Linked DNA regions of Homo sapiens: region 1 is linked to region 2. The links are contacts of gene promoters, found by promoter capture Hi-C in blood cells and fetal thymus (Javierre and others, 2016). All regions are on one chromosome and are shown on one strand. Each heading gives the region's core, a stretch centred on a gene start or on the middle of the fragment in contact. The rest is flanking DNA. Distances are from core to core; before and after follow the strand shown.

Region 1 (3,834 bases), core at 706-3,205, 9.4 Mb after region 2:
AGCGTCGCCTTTTTAAATGACAAAATTCTCTAGCTTTTCTTTGACATGAGGAATGTAGAAGGAGGGATAGATGGCATGACAAAGTTTGGAAATCACTTCTTTAAGCATCCACATACTCCTTAGGCTTAAAACAGTGCAAAAAGGTCCTAAAAGTCAAAATAAAATCAAATGGCAGGTTATGAATTCTGTGATATATGTTAAAAGTTTAATATCCATGATATTTGGTTATACTTCTTAAGCTGGTGACAACACTTAGAAAGTATTATTGTGGTGAATTAAATTCCACTGTCTTGTCATGGTGCTGTGATGGCAATTATGCAGTGTTTTTACCCTGTTAAGTCACCTGAACATAAACTAACAGGTACTAAAGAAATTAAAGCATTACATAAGCATACTCAAACAACAATATGGCTGGTCATACGAGAAATGCAATTATTTTGCTGACAAACTTATATGAGAAGTCTTACTGTTTCCCTAAGTTATTCACAGCACATCCCACTCACTCTTCACCAAAATATAATGAAGACTATTCCAGACATTCTCAGACTTGCTGGCTCTTTTGTTTCACTGAAAAGGTGAAGAAGTACAGAGATACCTGACAAGTATGGAAGTCTGATCTATTATTTGAACAAGAGATCTAAAATGAGAGAGTATCAATGTAATACATCAAGTGGTACAAAACTGTGGACTTCATAGTGAAACATTACAAAACTTCCTGCTTCCGGACAGCTCATTATTTGGTTCAAGGCTTCACATTCCTTTGTCATGGTCTTTCCGAAAGCTTTCATTCCTTATTAATATCAGACTTTTAATGTTACTAGTGGGACTTTCCAAATTAACAAGCCCCAAGTTCGTGCCCCAAGGAGGAGCTTCAGGACTACAATTTTCCCTCAGTAACCTGAGCAGAGTGTATGTCCCTCACGTAGTTGTTGTTGTTGTTGTTGTAAACATATTTCTTTCTGTATATCTTAAATTTGTGTTCAACTATATATTTTTATCACGTACAATTACAAGAACTTGCATTAGTTCTGCGGAAATTAGTGGAAAAACTGGGAGACCTGTGGGTATGTGTGAAATAGACACGAAACGGAGCTTCGCTGCCAATTGTCACTGGGGTCTCACACGGCCCAGATCTGGCCTCTGAGCCATGTCACTGGGTGCAAAGGCACAGACAACCACAGGGTAACTGGGCGAGAAAACAAGGAGGCTCCCTGTCAATACACGTACTTCCACCCTGAAGAGGAAGGGTGGCCCGCAGGGCAGACCCTAATGAAAACCCGTGCCTACTGGGATCGTCACATCGCCCGGGCCTGTAGGGCCTGCTAAAGGGGTGTGTGGAGGAGGAAGGACAGCGTCCGTCCCCACTTCGGAGACCCAAACAAATGAAAATAAGCCAAGTTCTCACTTCCTGGTTGCCTACTCTTTCGGAAGGCCCCCGACACCAGACGGACACAGGGGAAACGGGGCTCCCGTGGAGTAACGGGGCCCACCCCAGCCCGCACCTCCCGCCCTCGCCCTCCTCCGGGCCTTACACGGTGACGTGACCGGAGCCGCGGACGACCACCGGGTCCGGCGAGTACTTGAGCAGCTGCTCCTCCAGGGCCCGCTCCTCGTCCTCCTCTTCCTCATAGATTTCGTCGAAATCCGCCATCCTGAGCCTCCGAGCTCCCCTGCCCAAAGGGCCTGACTCCCGGGGTTGGCGCCGGGGTACCGGCGGGCGAGGCGGCGGAGGCTGAGGGGAGTCGCCGCTGCCGCCGGCTCCGAGGCCGCGGAGTTCGCTGTCGGCTGTCTCGGCTCCGGCTACAGAGGGGATGGGGTCTGGACCGTCGCCGCCACCGCCGCCGCCATTACCATCAGCAATAACAACAACACAATGTCAACATCCGCCCAGAGGCCGACACCTCCACAAGCACAGACGCCGCTGCCGCCGCCGCAGCAGCAGCAACTCAGGAAACCACAGCAACAGCCCGAGCCACCCGCAGCGGGAGCAGCCGGCTACGGCATCGCGAGACTTCCCGGGCCAACGGGCGGGCGGGCGCGTGCGTGGGCGCGTGGGCGAGCGGACTGGCTGGCGGGCGGGCGGGCGCGCGCACGTGCGGCCTCGCGCGCTCCCAGGCCACCGTCTTTCCTCTGCTTCTACCCGCAGACGGCGACCGGGGCGCGCGCTCCCGCCGGCGGGCCCCCCTCCGCCGACTTCTGGGTGGCGGACCCTGGGGGCGGCGGCTCCGCTGACTGGAGGCCGCGACCCGCGACTCCGACAACGCAGCTTGGAATGTCCAGTGGGACATGCAGTTCCCCAAAGTCATCTCTAACCAAAACAAACAACTGAAAAGAAAAGCCCTGGCTGGAATAGACACATTTTTGTGCGTGTCATTGCCAGTTTATCTAATAATCGCATCTCGCTTTTCCTCAGGTTTTGAGTCTATGATGAGAACCAGAGTCTCTTTTTTCCCAATTTGAGGAGTCCAGCAGAGACACTGCAAACATTTGTGCTCACCACAGGATTTTTCAAGACATCTCCAAATTCAAACATCTTATCCCTTGATCCCCTTAAGTATAATCCAATATATGAGGCCAGCGATGCTGGTATTTTTTTTTTTTTCTTACAAGAAATCTCACCGTAGTCATGCTATGAAAAAAAACTGATAAATTACCTGGATTCCATATTAGAAGATGCAGTTTCTTGCCCCAACTCTCTCACCAAACATAACCTGGTTTTTGTTGTTGTTTCCTTAAAATCTTAGGGAATTCCTTTCCTTTTCTTACCAGTTCCTACCACAAAAAAGACCTGAAAGAAAGGGCAGAGGAGAGGAAGAAAAGGAGGCAGGAAGGAAGAAAGGATAGAAGGAAGGACGAGAAGAATGAAAGAAGAATGGGAGAGAAAGAAAGAAGGGGAGGAAGGAAGGAAAAGGTTTAATGGAGTCTACTTAGCTGCCTAGTAACAGTTGAACGGTCACTTTGGGTACTTGGTTTCATTAAGCATATAAACAGCACAGGGGAAGGAGTGGGCTTCTGAGAAGAGAGTCCTGGACAGTGAGGATACACCATGGGAGAAGAAAGGATAGTTCTACTGAGCCCAGCGCTGGTCAGGCTCTTCAAGTGCAGTGTTCATGTCACAGTAGTCGGCTTTAGATGGGTCACTGTTGACGTGGAGAAAGTGCAAAGGAGGTCAATGAGGACAGTGAGAGATGCCAACCTCCTTTTGGAAACAACTGAAGGAAATGAGTGTGGTTAGCCAAGAAAAAATGAAGGAAAAATACAGTAGTTGTATCAGACTTATTGTATCCCTCCCTGGAGGGTATTTGTTCATTCAACAAATATCTACTGAACTCTAGCTATGTGGCAGGCACTGTGGACGTGTGTGAATGAGGCACAGGCCCTGACTTCTGGTAGCTTATCTATTGTTAAGGCAAGCAATTGTCATCTCTGCCAGGGGCTCATGGAGGAGGACACAGGAAGTGTCAGTGGGGCACACAGGAGGCAGCTTGGTCTGGTGTTTAACAATGTGTGTTCTGGAACCTGACTACCTGGCCTTGAATGTCAGCTCTGCCACTTACTGTGTGACCCTAGACAAGCCACTTAACTTCCCTGTTCAGTACCTGCCCCATTGGGATGCTCAGCAGATTCAAGGGCTTAAGATCGGTGAAGTGCCTAGAAGAAGGCCCAGTACACAATAAATACGGGGTAATAGGTGATGCTTAAGGCTCCCTAGCTTATCAACCCTGTGAGGGTTACCACAGCATTATGTAATATTTTACTGCTTATAAAGCACGTACATAATATATCATTTAATATTCCCCCAAGAACCTGTGAGGTAAGCAAAGAGGGTGTATT
Region 2 (3,896 bases), core at 534-3,033:
ACACATTAAAAGACTTGAACAAACTCATATAGTTTATAACAGCTCAAGGCTGCATCTCTAAGATGAAGCCCCCTTAAATTTCTGTCTGAGAAAGCTCAAGACTGACAAAATAATTTATTTGTTCCAGCCAACATGTGAAAGTAGCACTCATTTCCTAGTGTCTGCGGGAAGGGTAGGAGCCTTATTTCCATAAGCAACAGTTTACAACCCAGATGGATTTCAAATGGACCATTCTTCCGCCATTGTTTTTTGTAAATTTCCGTTTCCCTGACTTTGATCAAGCCCAGTTGTTCTCTTTCCCTACTCCCGCATTCTCCTTTTAAAATACAGTCGCCTCTGGACAAATTGTAGTTTAGTTCATTCTGGATCTTATTCCCGATTGCATTAGTATATCACTATAATAAAAATCTGTCTTCACCACTTTAACTGGTGTCTGCCTTTATCTTTGACAGGATATGGTGAAAATTAATGAGGGTAATTGTGCAAATTATGGAAGTCTGGGCAACATTGAATATAAATTATTGTGTTTACTTCAAGATAGTTGTTAAATTCATTCTCTTACAAGTGTGACAGAATTAGTCGTCTATCAAGTACTGTTTTAATTCATAAAAGTTCCAAGAAAGGGCCAGGCGCGGTGGCTCACGCCTGTAATCGCAACACTTTGGGAGGCCGAGGTGGGCAGATCACGAGGTCAGGAGTTCGAGATCAGCGTGACCAACATGGTGAAACCCCGTCTCTACTAAAAATACAAAAATTAGCCATGATTGCTGGCGCGCGCCTGTAATCCCAGCTACTCAGGAGACTGAGGCAGGAGAATCGCTTGAGCCCAGGAGGCGGAGGTTGCAGTGAGCCGAGATAGCGCTACTGTACTCCAGCCTGGGCGACAGAGCGAGACACCATCTCAGGGGGGAAAAAAAAATCCAAGAAAGAACTGAGTCTGGTACAGAATTCTTGATCCTAAGAAATCCTCCAAATGAAGAAACTTTCAAAGGCTCTGGAAACAATACGAATGATTCTGTCTTCAGTCACAATGATGAACTGAACACAGCTGTCATCTCCCTCCTTCGCACCAAATTCTGGATATTCCAGAAAAGCGCAAGAGAAATAGTGGGAGACAAACACTGGATGCAATCCTCCTATCACCTGTTTTATCCCCCATTCTTACTTCGTCAGAGCTCATTCCATGAAGTGGTAACTTGATGACGATGGAAACATTGGGGGTCCAGCATGGAACTTTTTCCCACCTTTACTTCTTGCCAAAACCTTCCTGGATTCAGTATTGCAATCAATGTTATGGCCCGTTTCCTTTCAGATGCACTTCAAGATTAGCTCTGTCACTGACAACATGGGGAATACATTTCGACCTCCAGATTTTAAAAGTGCCATTATTATTTTGCCATTAGGTAGAAGGCTAAGTCTCAACGTTGTGCTAATAATAGCATCTTTAAGTCCCTGGACTAAGACCTCGGCTCCTGGTTCGGGAATCAGACTGCCTGGGCGGCACTCCAGGCTCCACAGCTCCCCACCTGTGAGCTCCTGGGCAAGTCACTCGGTCCGGATTTCCAGAGGTAGTTTGGGGGAACTGACAGTACACACACCACAGGGCAGTAGTAAGAAAGAGACAATGCAAAGGAATTGGCACAGCACTCAGCAGACAATATAAGCTAATATGTACTCTGTCTACACCCTGCGTTTTAGGGAGTCAATCGAAAGCCTCCACTCACGTGACCACTCCACTACCCGGCGCCAAGACGCGCTGATGTCACGACAGCGTGCGGCGTGCAGACGTCGGCAAGCTGCGCCGCCGCTTCGGGTTGCTTCCGGATCTGGTACTTGGGCAGAGCTCCCCGGGGTTCATTGTCTTCGCTTCACAGGATCTGTTTGAGTCCTGTCCACCGGATCCTACGGGGGGTACCTTCGAAAAAAAACGGGCTATGCTGCTGTTGCGTGTGGGTACCCTCTCCTGACGCCTCCGCCGCCCGGGTCATGTGGACCCTCGTGGGTCGGGGCTGGGGGTGCGCACGCGCTCTCGCGCCACGAGCCACTGGGGCCGCGCTTCTGGTGGCCCCGGGGCCCCGGTCCGCGCCGACCCTTGGGGCTGCTCCAGAGTCCTGGGCTACCGACAGGCTCTACAGCTCCGCAGAATTCAAGGTGACTGCCCCCTGGAATCTGATTTAGCCAAGTTTTCAAACGTTGGAGTGCCCCATGCGATCTTGGACATGTATAGGGCTTTCTGGGACTAGCTCTGAACCCTGCTTGCAACTTGGTACAGGGAGGCAGAGCGGAGAGTGTGAGCACTGCTCAGGTTCCCGACCCTCCACTCCTCACTAGTGTGACCTTGGGCAAGTCACTAACTTTGTAGGTTTTCTCATTTTCAATGTCAAATGTTGATTTGTTTACGCGAGCCACTGGTCGAAGTGCTTTGCGTTTATTCATCTATTTAATTCTAAAAAGCCTACTAAGCAAGTTGCTAGTAAATATTAATATAACGTCCATTTTCCTGCAAATTAAGTAGCTATGTGGCCTGGGCAAGTTACTACATTGTCACTCTCCTACTTCATTTGTTGAATGCAGAACTGATCAAACATCCAGTGGCTAATTTGTGAGATTTGTGTGATGTGAGAAGTGGACTTTTTTAGACTAATACCTAGAATGCAGGAAGTTCTCGGTCTGTCTTTGTAGTTTTATTTCATTCTACCTCAGCCAGAGCAAACCTGTGTAATTTTGACTCTGGTGGGAGAGGGTGGGAGGTTCAACAACTCTGATAATTGTGAATGGATACATTTTAGTCAGAAAAGTGAAGTGACTGAAGGCAAGCTATAAGTAGGCAGAAAGACAAAACCTTAAATTAATCAACTTTGGCCCTAATATGCCTGTGTTTTTAAAAATGGATTTATATTGCAATTCGAAGTATAAAGATGGTGCAATTCTCTATACCTTTTGAACTGAAGGGAAAGAAAATCTACAGGGCAAACATCAGAATTAGTTTTTTTTCGGCAGACTTTCAGCTATAATTGTGCTTTTATTATCTGTCTTTATGGGGCTATTAAAAAACAAAGCTCACGTGAATTTTATATTTCATTGTAATTTCATGGTTTTGCTGATTGTGAAATATGCAGTTGATTGGAAAAAAATAGAGTACAAAAAACTGGTATATTTTGCTTGATAACAATTTCTAGCAATTTGTGATGTGTTTCAGTAAAACGTTAAAGAAGATGTGTACACGAAAAACCAGGAGTTCCATTTTAAAATATTTTTAAGTTTTAAGTGATAAGTCTTTTGTTGGATGTCATCTTTTTTTCTTTCTCACCAGAGAAGCTGCAAAGTAGCAAAATTGTATTTAAAATAAAATTTTGAGGCTCCATTAGAGACACAGATTTTTAAATAAATCTGATTCCTGATTAAATGTGTGATAGGAGCAGAAAATTTATCTTCTTTCAGCTTTTCTGTAGCTCCATTGCCTCAAAAGTTTTACTAGACAAGGTATTCTCAGGCCTTTAGAAGTTCTAGGTGTCTCATGTTCTCCATTCACGATAATAAATTCAGTTCCTGATTGGCCCTAAAAATTGTGTAGAAATGTTAAGGGATTATGATTTAGCTGTATAGTTACCTTTGGCTATTAAACTGATGTTCCTTGTAATATGAACTTAGCCATACATGTCTTTTTCTTAGAATAATAATATAAACAATATAAATGCTAGAAATGATATTGTTCAACGATTAAAAGAATATTCTTTGAATTGGTATACTTGTTTGATAGTATGCCAAATTTATACTCCTAAATGTGGTATTTCCCCTTTCTAGGAAAAACTTGACATGTCTAGGTTTCCTGTTGAAAATATTAGAAATTTCAGTATTGTTGCACACGTGGATCATGGCAAAAGTACTTTAGCTGA

What was found. The method cuts DNA at HindIII sites, captures the fragments that hold promoters and counts their contacts. A CHiCAGO score of 5 or more calls a contact.
Region 1: a contact is called between the fragment with the promoter of CHIC2 here and the fragment with the promoter of GUF1 in region 2, in 1 of 17 cell types (total CD4 T cells). The highest score is 9.4, in total CD4 T cells.

Annotation. Positions count from the first base shown.
Region 1 is chr4:54,062,650-54,066,483 of GRCh38, forward strand. It overlaps CHIC2 (cysteine rich hydrophobic domain 2), which reads right to left and starts at 1,956. Exons shown (of 6, transcript NM_012110.4): 1 at 1,533-1,956. The coding sequence starts at 1,651. RefSeq lists an enhancer at 1,364-1,864 and silencers at 1,664-1,793, 2,024-2,263. The HindIII fragment of the contact is 3,181 bases long and covers 780-3,834 here.
Region 2 is chr4:44,676,637-44,680,532 of GRCh38, forward strand. It overlaps GUF1 (GTP binding elongation factor GUF1), which reads left to right and starts at 1,784. Exons shown (of 17, transcript NM_021927.3): 1 at 1,784-2,151; 2 at 3,805-3,896. The coding sequence starts at 1,987. RefSeq lists an enhancer at 1,003-1,891 and a silencer at 1,963-2,122. The HindIII fragment of the contact is 9,672 bases long and covers 1-3,896 here.